4 separate regions of the Homo sapiens genome follow, and regions 2, 3 and 4 are each linked to region 1. Evidence: promoter capture Hi-C in 16 types of primary human blood cells and fetal thymus (Javierre and others, 2016). All regions are on one chromosome and are shown on one strand. Each heading gives the region's core, a stretch centred on a gene start or on the middle of the fragment in contact. The rest is flanking DNA. Distances are from core to core; before and after follow the strand shown.

The links. The method cuts DNA at HindIII sites, captures the fragments that hold promoters and counts their contacts. A CHiCAGO score of 5 or more calls a contact.
Region 2: a fragment that was not itself captured here is called in contact with the fragment with the promoter of MEAF6 in region 1 in 1 of 17 cell types (M1 macrophages); the score reaches 5.0 in M1 macrophages.
Region 3: a contact is called between the fragment with the promoter of RRAGC here and the fragment with the promoter of MEAF6 in region 1, in 4 of 17 cell types (naive CD4 T cells, fetal thymus, total CD8 T cells and 1 more). The highest score is 8.4, in naive CD4 T cells.
Region 4: the fragment with the promoter of LSM10 here is called in contact with the fragment with the promoter of MEAF6 in region 1 in 4 of 17 cell types (naive CD4 T cells, non-activated CD4 T cells, fetal thymus and 1 more); the score reaches 7.9 in naive CD4 T cells.

Annotation. Positions count from the first base shown.
Region 1 is chr1:37,513,103-37,516,482 of GRCh38, forward strand. It overlaps MEAF6 (MYST/Esa1 associated factor 6), which reads right to left and starts at 1,664. Exons shown (of 7, transcript NM_001270875.3): 1 at 1,555-1,664; 2 at 321-436. The coding sequence starts at 1,644. RefSeq lists a silencer at 1,249-1,848. The HindIII fragment of the contact is 2,267 bases long and covers 533-2,799 here.
Region 2 is chr1:36,488,296-36,491,458 of GRCh38, forward strand. No RefSeq gene overlaps it. Among named protein-coding and RNA genes, the nearest start is that of CSF3R, 7.0 kb to the left of the region's middle. The HindIII fragment of the contact is 3,716 bases long and covers 1-3,119 here.
Region 3 is chr1:38,857,725-38,861,400 of GRCh38, forward strand. It overlaps RRAGC (Ras related GTP binding C), which reads right to left and starts at 2,048. Exons shown (of 7, transcript NM_022157.4): 1 at 1,686-2,048. The coding sequence starts at 1,922. It overlaps RRAGC-DT (RRAGC divergent transcript), which reads left to right and starts at 2,169. Exons shown (of 2, transcript NR_186075.1): 1 at 2,169-2,515. RefSeq lists a silencer at 1,578-2,337 and an enhancer at 1,973-2,267. The HindIII fragment of the contact is 4,947 bases long and covers 1-3,676 here.
Region 4 is chr1:36,396,194-36,399,433 of GRCh38, forward strand. LSM10 (LSM10, U7 small nuclear RNA associated) reads right to left here and starts at 1,715. Exons shown (of 2, transcript NM_032881.3): 1 at 1,574-1,715. RefSeq lists enhancers at 860-1,572, 1,573-2,284. The HindIII fragment of the contact is 5,014 bases long and covers 1-2,107 here.

The sequences.
Region 1 (3,380 bases), core at 414-2,913:
AAAAGAAAAATACTGTGAGGGTAGAACTCATGACTGATTAAAATGTGTAAAAAATTTAATAGAATGCTATTGTATAAAGATACTGTATTTAAGCCTCACACAACCCTGTGCCATAGGCCCAACTTTCGCTATTTTACAGATGTGAGCCTTGTCTAAGATTATTCGGTGAGGCAGTGCCTGAGCCAGAGTCCAAGAGTTCAAGTCCAGATCACACCACTACTTTACTACTGCCTCCAGCAAAGTTGCCACTAAGAGCATACAGTCCTAAAAACAAACGTTACTAGGGCACAATAGGAACACTACAGGCTTTCGACACTCACTTTTGGTTGGTCAGATACCGATCCCAGCCACGAATAATATTGCCATACATCTGAGTGTCTTCCAGGTAGCTTCCCTCAAAAGCATAGATCTGTCGCTCCAAATTTGCCAATGTTTCCTGAGAGATGAAAAACAAGGACATGAATGATACCTTTTAAATGCAAACACTTAAGTCTGGCCAAAATGAAATCCTGATATTAGACTCGTAAACGCAAGCTTGCCCACACTAAACCACCCTGTGGAGAGATGGAAGATACGGGGAGGAGGAGCCGTTTAGGACTAAGACAGTCTAGACCTTTGGGGGTGATGGACCCCTGAATGTATAAAGCATGTCTCCAGAAAAATACACACACACGCGAAATTTTGCATATACTTTAGAGGATTCACGGAAACCATGAGTCAAGAGCCCAGGCTAACGCAGAACTTGGGCGATGTCCACTCCCACGCACAAAAGGTATCGCTACCAGGAGAGGGAAAGGTGAGCAGCCTTTCAGCGTCAACTCGCTCCCCTCCCCGCAGGCTCAAGAGAGGCCGCCGACACCGGGCTGCCAGTTGCTATGGAAACCTAGAAGGGCAGCTTCAGGTGAGAGGGGCCTCCCGGGTGCCCAAGCCGAGACGCGGGGGCAGGAAGAGCTTAGCCACCAGAGTGCATTGGGCCTTGGGTGCCTGTCACAATTCTGAATTCTCCGGAATGTGTTCTTCTCCCTCGCCTGTCACCTTCTAGATGTTCCCAAACACATCACAACCCTGTCTATCAAAAACCTCCATTCAACGGATCTACTCCCAGTACCAAAAAGAACACGCTCCCCACCAGCCTCCAAAGTCCAGACGGGGTGACTGGGTCCCCCTCCCACACTAGCCTCCTTCCCCACCCCCTCCCCGCAAAGATCACGGACTAGCCCGCCTCGCCCACCCCCGCGGCTCACTGACGCTCGCCCTTCCTAGCGCCCTCTCCCCGGGCCCCGGCACCGTCCTCCCTCCACGCCCCCTCCTGCGGCTGCCGCTTCCCCTCCCCCTCCCGCGCTCCCGGCTCTCTCCCGGCTCCGGATTCGCACAGCCGGGAAGCTGAACCGCCGGCGGGCCGCAGAATGCGCACCCGGCCTCAGGCCGCCGAGCACCCGGCCCGCCGCGCCGCGCCCCCGGAGTAACAAACGGCCTAGCGCGGCCGGGCTTGGGGCCTGGAGGCGGGGCGGGCGCGGAGCCCCATGCCGTGCAACCCCTGTCCTAGCCCCTCACCGCCAGCTCCTGCTTCCGCTTCACGAGCTCCGCCAGCTCCCGCCGGGTGTCCGGGATCTGCGGCGGCGCCGCCTTGTTGTGCATCGCCATGTTGGGCTGAGGCGGGCGGCGGCGGCGCGAGGTTGGGGGCGGTCCCTGCGCCGCCAGGGGGCGCCCCCCCGCTCTGCGCCTGCGCGCGCGGCTTCCGGAGACGCGTGCAGCGCCGTGCCGAGCTTCGCTAAGGCCGGGGCTCTCGAAGGTCCTTCTCGGAGAGCTCTAGAGATGCGGCTTCTGCTTTCTGCCGTTTCCTGCCCCTCGGCTGGCCGCCGGCTTTACAGACGCCACAAATCCACCGCGTCCAAAGCCTAGCTCGTCCTCAGGCCTCCGAGTCTCCTGTGCGCCCCGCTTCAGTCCACTTCAGTGAATGACTTTCACTATCCACCGAATTGCCTGCGTCAGAAACGCGGTTTTCCTCACTCTGCACCTGGAGTAAAACGCGATCCCAGGTCAAGCTCTATGGACTCGACTCCGGAAGAGCTCGCGAATCCATTTGCTTGTGCCTGCGCCTTCTGCCACCTCACTAGTTCATTCAGGCCCTCCCTGTTTGGGGCTACATTATTCCAGCGGCTTATTTCCACCTTTAGCCCCACTTAATCCACTATCCACAGTGGTGCCAGGATCTTCCAGAAACAAATGTTATCACTCCCCGGTTTAAAGTCTTTCAGTGGCTTCCCATTTTCCCAGTGCCCTTTGGAGAAACAAGTATGTGTAGTGGTTAAGGGCACAAAACTGGAGCGAGAACTACCTTGTTCAAAATCCTATCGCTACATCGATAAAGTGTGCTCCTTTGGGCAAATAACCAAATCTCAACTCCCTCATCTGTAAAATACAAGCAGTAATAGAATCTACCTAATACATTTGCTGTGAGGAGTAAATCACCTAATATGTGTAAGGGGTTTGGCAGGCGCCAATGACTGTGCAAGTACGAGTTCGCTTTTATCGTTAAGTCCAAGGTGTAAACGTTGTTTTCACTTGGCCCCTGTGGATTTCTCCGTCCTCAGCTCTCCATCTTTCACTGTTCTGCAGTTTCGCTATCATAAGTCTAAGTGGGATATTTTTTCTTCCTTTTGTTTTGTTTCTTGCTTGGAAGTCTTTGGATTTCTATAATATGTGGGTTGGTATCTTCCACCAGTTTTGGGAAATCGCAGTCATTTTTCTTCAGATGCCTGTCTCATTTCTCTCTCCTTCTGGAACTCGAACATAAGAAGCTTTTTAACCTACCGTCTATATTTTCCATCTTTTTGTCCCTCTGTGCTGCATTCTGAATAACTGGTTTCGTGTGCGGATCTTGTAACCTGCCATCTTGCTGAACTCCCTTACTAATTTTAGGGGGGGTTGTATAGATTCCTTGGAATTTTTACATAGATAATAATTTCATCTGCAAATAAATAGGGAGTTTTTTTTTTTCTAAGCTGAGTGCTTTTTCTTTTTCTTCCTTATTGTGCAGATTTCCAGTAGTCTGTTAAATAAAAGTGATAACATTAGACATCCTTGCCTTGTTCCCTGTTTTAAGGGGAATGCAGGCCGGGCGCGGTGGCTCACGCCTGTAATCCCAGCACTTTGGGAGGCCGAGGCGGGTGAATCACAAGGTCGGGAGATCAAGACCATCCTGGCTAACACAGTGAAACCTCGTCTTTATTAAAAAATACAAAAAAAATTAGCCGGGCGTGGTGGTGGGCGCCTGTAGTCGCAGCTACTCGGAAGGCTGAGGCAGGAGAATGGCGTGAACCCGGGAGGCGGAGCTTGCAGTGAGCCAAGATCCCGCCACTGCACTCCAGCCTGGGCAA
Region 2 (3,163 bases), core at 12-2,511, 1.0 Mb before region 1:
ATGTTTTCTCCTAAAAACCTGCTTTTCTGTCCTGGTGAATCCAGAAACTTAAACTGGTCCTGAACACCTCCCTGCTGGTCACCCCCTACATCCAGTCTGTCGCTCCTTCCAGTGCGATTTGTCCCTTCTCTCCCACCTTATGGCCCCTGCAGGAAGCCAGTCCATCATTGTTGTCTCCTTGGATGACGTCTCGGCTTCCTCCTGGTCTCCCTGCCTTCATTCCTGGGATACACCCTTGCTATACTTAGCTGGAGTGCTTCTTCCAAATTGTGAATTCCAGTATGTCACCACCCAACAGAAAATTGGCTGGACGCTGTGGCTCATGCCTGTAATCCCAGCACTTTGGGAGGCCAAGGCAGGTGGATCACCTGAGGTCAGGAGTTCGAGACCAGCCTGGCCAACATGGTGAAACCCCATCTCTACTAAAAATACAAAAATTAGCCAGGCGTGGTGGTGGGCACCCGTAATCCCAGCTATTCGGGAGGCTGAGGCAGGAGAGTCACTTGAACCCGGGAGGTGGAGGTTGCAGTGAGCTGAGACCATGCCACTGCACTCCAGTGTGGGTGACAAAAGCAAAACTCCTTCAAAAAATAAAAAAAAAAGGCATCCATCCATTGGTTCCTCGCTGTCCATGGGCTAAATTTCTAAGTCTTCCTCATGTCCTTTGAGGCCCTTCAAAACCAGACCCTGAAGGGGTGGCCTGCCCCTCCACACCTGTGGGTGTTTCTCATCGGACTGACAAAAGAGAGAGACACAGAAACAAAGTATAGAGAAGGAAAAGTGGGCCCAGGGGACTGGTGCTCCAGAGGACCCGCGAAGGCACGGGTCTCTGAGTTCCCTCAGTATTTATTGATCATTATCTCTACCATCTCTGAGAGGGGGTTGTGGCAGGACAGTAGGGTAATAGTGGGGAGAGGGTCAGCAGGAAAACATGTGAACAAATGTCTCTGTATCATAAATAAGGTTAAGAAAAAGGTGCTGAGCTTTGATGTGCACATACATAAACATCTCAATGCATTAAAGAGCAGTATTGCCACCAGCATGTCTCACCTCCAGCCTTAAGGCGGTTTTCTCCTATCTCAGTAGATGGAACATACAATCGGGTTTTACACCGAGACATTCCATTGCCCAGGGAGGAGCAGGAGACAGATGTCTTCCTCTTATCTCAACTGCAAAGAGGCCTTCCTCTTTTACTAATCCTCCTCAGCACAGACCCTTTACAGGTGTCGGGCTGGGGGACGCTCAGGTCTTTCCCTTCCCACGAGGCCATATTTCAGACTATCACATGGGGAGAACCCTTGGACAATACCTGGCTTTCCTAGGCAGAGGTCACTGTGGCCTTCTGCAGTGTTTTGTGTCCCTGGGTACTTGAGATTAGGGAGTGGTGATGACTTTTAACAAGCATGCTGCCTTCAAGCATTTGTTTAACAAAGTGCATCCTGCATAGCCCTAAATCCATTAAACCTTGAGTCGACACAGCACATGTTTCTGTGAGCACAGGGTTGGGGGTAGGGTTACAGATTAACAGCATCTCAAGGCAGAAGAATTTTTCTTAGTACAGAACAAAATGGAGTCTGTTATGTCTACCTCTTTCTACATAGACACAGTAACAGTCTGATCTCTCTTTCTTTTCCCAACATTTTCCCCTTTTCTTTTAGACAAAAACACCATTGTCATCATGGCTTGTTCTCGATGGTCGCTGTCTCTTCGGAGCTGCTGGGTACACCTGCAGACTGGGGCCTGCCTCTGGGGAAGGATTAATATGAAATTTACAATAGTAGTACTTCCGATGGTCTTAACCCACGTGACAGGGTTAAGATTTGTGAGGCCATCAGCAACTCCCGCGATTACCTCAGTTCCTGGTACCAAATTTAAATGGGCTTTTGATGCTTCGAAAATTTGTTCTTTTAATTTGGAAATGTCTAAAGTGGGATTATCTTCTCTTCCCTGCAGATGGCGTCTAACCATGTCCCAGTGATGCTCAGACTCATTATAAACTCGGGGTGTAATACAAAAATCTGATGTATCCCAGTCACACTGTAACTGGAAACGATGTTCTAGGCTCATGAGCCTATCTCCCATCAGGATTATCCATCCATGTGACTGCCTGAATTAAGGGCGGGAAAGGCACATAGGCCCAGTAGGTATAATTAGCTGCAGCTGCTCCTGCAGGCATGGGGAGACTTACCACAGTTGATACAATCATCAAAGCTGCAAGCAGCATGTTCTCTGGAGTTTGTGTCACCTTTGTGTTCTCTAGGCTTTTTTTTTTTTAGTTAACTGTGTCAGCTTCTTTAATTGTGCCCAAGTCGGCGCCTCCACCTTCTTGGTGGATGGCAACTTCATCTGTTCTTCTGACATCACCATTCTGTTCATCTTGTGAGTTGATGGTGCTTGATTGCAGTGTCTCCGTCTCCGTGGAGGCGCTTTTCTTTGCATCTCCAATGGGTTCATTGTAGAACTTCAAATGTCTAGTGGGTATCCAAACAGGAAGCTGATTTTCTCCTGGTGAAACACAAGCAAAACCTCTCCCTTACGTTACCACCTTCCCTATTTCCCATGTCTTATTTTTGTTGTCTTTCCACCAAATCAGTTTTCCTTCATATGGGCTCTTCTTTTTAGTAAGATGTTGTTCTGCAGAAGTAGTAGTCTGATTTCTATAAATGTTTAAAAAATTTAAAGTATAGAGGGCTAGATTAAGTTGCATCTGAGGAGTGGTACACTCCTTACTGTCTTCCCCTTCTTTCTGTTTAACTAATTGAGTTTTGAGTGTTCTATTAGTTCTTTCAACTATGGCCTGTCCTTGGGAATTATAGGGAATTTCTGTTGTATTTAGGTTGCAGTGAGCTGAGACTGTGCCACTGCACTCCAGTGTGGGCGACAAAAGCGAAACTCCTTCAAAAAAAAAAAAAAAGAAAATCATCCATCCATTGGTTCCTCGCTGTCCATAGGCTAAACTTCTAAGTCTTCCTCATGTCCTCTGAGGCCCTTCAAAACCAGACCCTGAATCCTTCCTCACCCTGCAGCCTCATCTCTCTCTCTTTTTTGTCCAGGTCCTAATCCCTGGAACCTGTGAATATGTCACCTTACATGTCAAAAGAACTTTGAAAATGTGATTAAGCTTAAGGATGTTGGGATGAGGAGATTATCTTGGATTATCTGG
Region 3 (3,676 bases), core at 798-3,297, 1.3 Mb after region 1:
CGAGGCGGGCGGATCACTTGAGGTCAGGAGTTCGAGACCAGCCTGACCAATATGGTGAAACCCCATCCCCACTAAAAATACCAAAATTAGTCGGGCGTGGTGGTGCACGCCTGTAGTCCCAGCTACTTGGGAAGCTGAGGCAGGAGAATCACTTGAACCCAGGAGGTGGAGGCTGCAGTGAGTGAAGATCACACCACTGCCCTCCAGCCTGGGCGATGAGCAAGACTCCATAACAAACAAACAAAAAAAAAAGGATCACAATAATCACAACCTACACAGTTCTAACATAAAACTACTTTGCCTCTTACTGTCTAGAAGAGAAAAGTGAACAATTACTCTCAAGGTTTTCTCAGTAACAAATGTGAATAACTGAAATTAGTTTACTAAAAACCTACAGTCAACGTACCCAAGTTTTGCTGTAGAGGTGAAAATCAAGGTAAATAAAACACAGTACTCCAGCAAACCTGGAAGAACGCTGCTTTTTAAAAAGATCCCATCTACAAAATATCACAGATTCAGAAAGAAAAAAAAATCACAGATTTATTTTGGATAGGCCTTTGCAACAGAGTGGAGAGGTGAAAAGACCAGGTGCCTGCTGATACTAGTTTTATTACCAGCTCACTCCGCGTATAATGGGTTTGGCTGATGGAGGAAGTCAACCTTGCCTCTATTTAACCCTCACTAAACAGTGTAGGCCAGCGTGGTGACTCACACCTGTAATCCCAGCACTTTGGGAGGCCAAGGCGGATGATCACTTGAGGTCAGCAGTTCGAGATGACCCTGGCCAACATGGTGAAACCCCGTCTCTACTAAAAATACAATAATTAGCCGGGCGTGGTGGCGCGCGCCTGTAATCCCAGCTATTCGGGAGGCTGAGGCGGGAGAATTACTTGAACCAGGGAGGTGGAGGTTGCAGTGAGCCGAGATTGCACCACTGCATTCTCCAGCCTGGGCGACAGAGCGAGAGACTCCGTCTCAAAAACATAAACAAACAAACGTGTACAGCCCTCCATTTGTTCATGAAGGCCCAAAAGTGAAAACAAACAGACTAGGTCTGCAAAATATTCTCAAAGTCTCAGATTTTTAAAAACACACCCCTACAGGGGGAACAGCACCAGTAATTACATTCACCAGGCCACAACTACTGAAATGGGTGCAATCTCACTACCCAATTCCCAGTAATGCTACAGCGAAGTCTCCTTCACATCAGTAGCGAGAATTACAACGCCCAGTGTCTTAGTCACAACTCTTCCTGACGCTGCTCCCTGGGGCTCTGCTGGGAATCCCGAAACACTCAGGTCACCTGAAGTGAGAACAAATCAAAACGGGCCAGGGGAGGGAGTCCACGAAGTTCTCCAAGTGAGAACTGGAGAGTACGTCTCAGTTTCGTAAATGACACAGGAGCTGGGTCCCAGGGGGCGGAGGTCTTGGGCGGTGCCACCGGGCACCTGCCTCCCGGCAACCAGTTTCGCCTTCAGCGCTCCACTTGGCTTCAGCTGACTTGGGCGTGGACACAGAGGTCGGGGTCCCCGCGCGGGCCGCGCCTGTGCGCTCGCAAGAGTGGAAGAGAAAGTGCGGAGGGACGGAGCGCAGGCGGGCCCCGGCCGCCGCCCTCCCGGGCGTCCCCGCTACCGGCCACCTGAGAACCGGGGAGGGGGCGGGGGACTGGGCGCAGCCCTGCTCACCTTCTGGATGGAGGACTTGCCGCTGCGCCGGAGTCCCATGAGCAGAATCCTCGGCTTGGAGCTGTCAGCGCCCCCCGGACCACAGCCACCGCCTGCCCCTGCCCCAACCCCTCCGCCCGCCGCCGCCGCCTCCTCTTCCTCCTCCTCCACGCCGTAGCCGAAGTCCTTTGGAAACGAATCGGCCGCGCCGTAACTGCCGGCGAGGGGCGTCTCCTCCGCCCCGTACTGCAGGGACATGGTGCTGGAGCCGCCGCCGCCCGCGCCCTGACAGGCCAGGCCAGGCCGAGCCAGGCCGCCGCCTCCCCAGTCCGCCTCCGCCGCCGCCGCCACCACCGCCACCGCCCCCGGCAGCCGCCACAGTCCGGCCCGCCCCCCGGAGCCCGGCTCTCATAGGCCCCGAGCCGAAGCCCAGCCGCTTATTGGCCGCCCGAGCTGCTACTCGAGAGCAGCAGGGTAGGTGGTGCCCCGTCACGTGCCGGAATCACCTGACTCAGAGCCGCGGAGGGGGGAGGAGGAGTCACGAGGAGGGCGGCCCGGCCGCGCCTCTAGCCCCGGCTCGGGCCCTCAGCCCTCCGCCCCGGCCCGCATACAACGCTGTCTGCACCGCTCCCCTGCCTTCTTCCGGGCTCCCAGAGCACCGCTATGGAGATGCTCTCCCGGCATTTGAGGAAGAATTGATTGTCCTCATCCTGCAACTGTACTTGCCCAACCGATATTTATTGATGCCTGCAGTGTCCTGGGTGCCTACCAAGGGGCACAGAACTGGATCCGACGCAGACCCTGCCTGCCTTCAGGTTGCTTGAAGATGAACAGAGAGATCGGACCTCTGCGTAAGTAACCTCGCTACGAAATATTATGTGGGAAGGTCACGGATAAATAATGCTCGGGAGTTGAATGAGAAAGCGTCTGAGCAGATCTAGGTGGATGGATAGATTGGGATGTGCAAAGGTATGGGGGAGCCAGCCACACTGAGGGCAAACCTCAACCAAGGCAGAGTCATGGGTCACCGTGATAGTTTGTTCTAGCAGGTAGCTGGACCCTGATGGGAAAGCAGATGCAGCCAAGCTAGAACATCTTATCTTCTTTCTTCAGTAAGTCGCCGATAGTGGATACTGCTGCCACTTCAAACCCAACGGGACTCAATTTGCCCTCCTTCCCGCCTTGTCAAAGTCTACTCTAGGAATTCCATCCCCCATAGAACACTGCCTCTTCTATGACCTCGTTCAGATTAGAGACCAAAGTATTGAATAATGAAAGCAAACAAAAGCAAATGCTTGTCACCAAATATGTCCGAGAAATCTAGAGGAATTTTTATTTTTGATAATCAGGCTCTAGAACTGGAAGTTTGAGAAGAGGATCCTCTTAAAGCACAGCCCTATACACTTTTTAAAGTACAGGAGTGGGGGTGCTCCCAGCCCTCCAAGGAGACTGACTTCTTGATTATGAAGGAAAAATTCGCACATGCGGGCAGGTCTGGGACTTTGGTTTTGTCTGAACCCAGAAGTTAGAGGTAGGATACACCCTTAGAGGTCATCTAGCCCAACCTCTCACCTAAAACGAACCAACTCTATAGTGTCTAATAGACATGCAGAATGCACTTAAATAGTTCGAAGGTAAAAGAGCTCACCATCTCGAAAGGCAGCCAACTCCACTGTGGTAAACCTTTGTTTAAAAATTGTTAAAGCCGGCCGCGCGGTGGCTCACGCTTGTAATCCCAGCACTTTGGGAGGCAGAGGCGGGCGGATCATGAGGTCAGGAGATCGAGACCATCCTGGCTAACATGGTGAAACCCCATCTCTACTTAAAAAAATACAAAAAATTAGCCGGGCGTGGTGGCGGGCGCCTGTAGTCCCAGCTACTCGGGAGGCTGAGGCAGGAGAATGGCTTGAACCCAGGAGGCGGAGCTTGCAGTGAGCCGAGATCGCGCCACCGCACTCCAGCCTTGGCGACAGAGCGAGACTCCGTCTCAAAAAAAAAAAAAAGTCTTAAAG
Region 4 (3,240 bases), core at 465-2,964, 1.1 Mb before region 1:
CCAGCCTGGGCAGCAGAGTGACTCCATCTCAAAAAAAAAAAAAAAAAAAAAAAAAAGAAAGCTCCCCAGATAACTCCAAAGTGCTGAGGGGTACTGGTTAGAAATGCGCAATCTCAGGTCTCTCCCCAAGCCTGTTCTGAGATAAAATCCACTCCTTCACTGAGTGGCTCACTGCCATCTTCCACGCTGGCTGGAAACAGACTGCATTTTAACATGACCCCCTACGTGAATTAGATACACGTTAAGGTTTGAGAATCATTGGTTGACACCAGTAGTTCTCAAACATTAGTGTGTATCAGAATCATCTGAGGGGCTTGTTAACTCAGCTTGCTGGGCCCCACTCCCAGTTTGACTCAGGTCTGAGGTGAGGCCCAGAGATAAAGTCATTTTGAACATGTTCCCAGGTGATGCTGATGCTGCTGGTCAGGGGCCCACACTCTGGGAACTATTGGTCTACACCATGCAGCTGTTATGTAAGTAGAAATTAAGGTAATGAGGCCGGGTGCAAGGGCTCACGCCTGTAATCCCAGGATTTTGGGAGGCCAAGGCGAGTGGATCACCTGAGGTCAGGAGTTCAAGACCCGCCTGGCCAACATGGTGAAACCCAGTATCTACCAAAAATACAAAAATTACCTGGGCATGGGCGCACCTGTAATCTCAGCTACTTGGGAGGCTGAAGCAGGAGAATCGCTTGAACCCAGGAGGCAGAGGTTACAGTGAGCCAAGATTGTGCCACTGCACACCAGCCTGGGTGACACAGCGAGACTCTCAGAAAAAAAAAAAGAAAATAAATCTGGATAATGAATTGGGGAAAAAAACCCCCAACCGGTATTATATAAGGTACATAGGTTTTGAAGGTAGAGAAACCTAGGTTGGAATCCCCACTCCACCCCTAATTATGAAAACCTAGAAAAGTTAATGTCTCTGAACCTGTTTCCACATTTATTAAACTACAGGAGAAACAAAGCTACCAGAATCACACTCCACTAAAGGTACTCTCCTTTGATTTCAACATGCCCTGATAATGTATTAGTGCACTATGTCTTACCTATCCCTTATTTTCAGACCTGAGTTAAAGGGGGTGGAACGCTCTCTCTTTACGACCTCACTCAGCATCCCGTCCAGGGCTGTGCATTGTGGCACTGAGCGTGGCAAGCCAGACTAGGCCAGTGACGAGGGGGCCTGGGAGCTAGGTCCCTGGGCATGGCCTAACGACCAGCCACCCGGCTGCAGCCTGATGAATCTGCGATCAAGCAAAGGTATGGGGCTGCTGCTGCGACTGCAAAGAGCAGTCACCGGACCTCGAGTCAGGCCCGGGTTCTAGAACAGGCTTTGCCACCTCCTAGGAGGGCGATCACTTAGCAAACCACTTAGCTTCTCCAAGCTAGCTAAGCTACCGGTAAAACGGGATGAGCACCGCTTACTCAGAGCAGCGGGAGCGGGTCTGGGGAAAGGAGCTATACTCGGTAAATGGGGAAGAAAACGCTTCCTGGGCTCCGGCACCTCCTTCCGGAGGTCCTGGCATCCCCCGCATTCCGCCCCGGGGCTCCCTGCACCGCCGACCCGGACCCACCACGCGACATTCCTTCCGCTTTCCCCGTCTGGGTCGCCGCCGAAGCTAGCGGGCGCCTGGACTGGCTGCCTCCCGCCGGCTGCAGCAGGACGGAGAAACCATGCCGGCGACCGGGCCGCTCTGTCCTCCGGGCGCAGAGTGCGTCAGTGCTCTGCAAGTCACCGCGTCACGGAGAAACTACAATCCCCAGAATGCTTCGCGGCGCGGGGCTCGTGCTCCGCAAATCCCGGCCTGCGTCATTGGAGTCTCTTTCACTAGAGTCGTTCATTCATTCCGCACGCATTCATTGAACCGGCGACCTGGGCCAGGCTCCTTCCCAGGCTCCGGCATGGAGCAGTGACCAAGATCAAGTGGCTCCCTGAGCTGATGGCGCTGCAGGGGAGAGAGTCTTAAGAAAACAAAGAAGAAAAATAGGGAAAAATTTCTTCAGAAGATTAAAGGTGTGATGTGATGGTGACAAGGTGGTCTTTTATTGGATTGTCAGGGGTGCCCTGAGAAGGTGACATTTGAGTTGAGATTAGTGACATGAAGCCAAGCTTGTGAAAACTATGGGAGGAGCATTGCAATTAGCGGGAACAGTTTGTTAAGTAAAATTTATAGGAGGCAGGGCCGGGTGCAGAGGCCCACACCTGTAATCCCAGCACTTTGGAGGACAAGGCGGAAGGATCACTGGAGCCCAGGAGTTCGAGACCAGTCTGGGCAACAATGGGGAGACCCTGTCTCTACAAAAAATAGAAAAAATTAGCCCACCGTGGTGGCGTACACCTCTGGTCCCACCTACTTGGGAGGCTGAGGCAGGAGAATTGCTTGAATCCAGGAAGTGGAGGCTGCAGTGAGCTCAGAAAGTAACACTTCATTCCAGCCTGGGCAACAGAGCAAGACTCCGTCTCAAAAAAAAAAAAAAATTGGAGGCCATTGGTTTGAACAGGGCTCCTGCACCAAGCCCAACAGAACCAAAATGGAGTCACTCATGCTAAAGTTCTACATCACCAAGTGGAAACTAAGTTGTTTATCTGATATTCCGATAAATCAGAAGAGTGAGAGATAGCTAGATCTCCAAACCATCCTGTTTTAGCTGGCAGGATAAGGAAGTCCCCTCTGCTTTAGCCTTCAAAGTTACAAGGAAAGTAACTTTGAAACAACCAATCTTTTTGTTTTCTGTTTCTGCTTTCCTCAGCCCTTTTCTGGCTGTAAAACCAATCTCCTCTGCTCAGCTCATTTGAACACTCATTCCATTTTATAGAATGAAGTGTTGCCCGATTCTAGAGTTGCAAATAAAAGTCAGATTTAACAAATTTGGCAAAAAAAAGTCAAATCACCAATTAAAAGTTAAATTTTTTCTTTTCACAGTTCATGCAAAGAACCTGGGGGAAATGACCTTGACAATTTAGGAACACAGGAAAGGCCAGGGAAGCTGGGGAGAGTGGTATAACAAGAGGCCAGAGAGGAAGCAGGAACCAGAGCATATAGGGCTTTGTGAGCCAAGGTAAGGAGTTTAGATTTCATGGTTAGGAGTGCAGCCTCCGGATACAGTGCCTAGGTTCAAATCTACTCCTGGCTAATTGTGACTTTGGGCAAGTTAGTATCTTCTCTGTGCCTCAGTCTTCTCATCTAGTACTAGAAGTGCTATGACAGGCTATTGAAAGGGAGCGAAGTGATTTGATTTA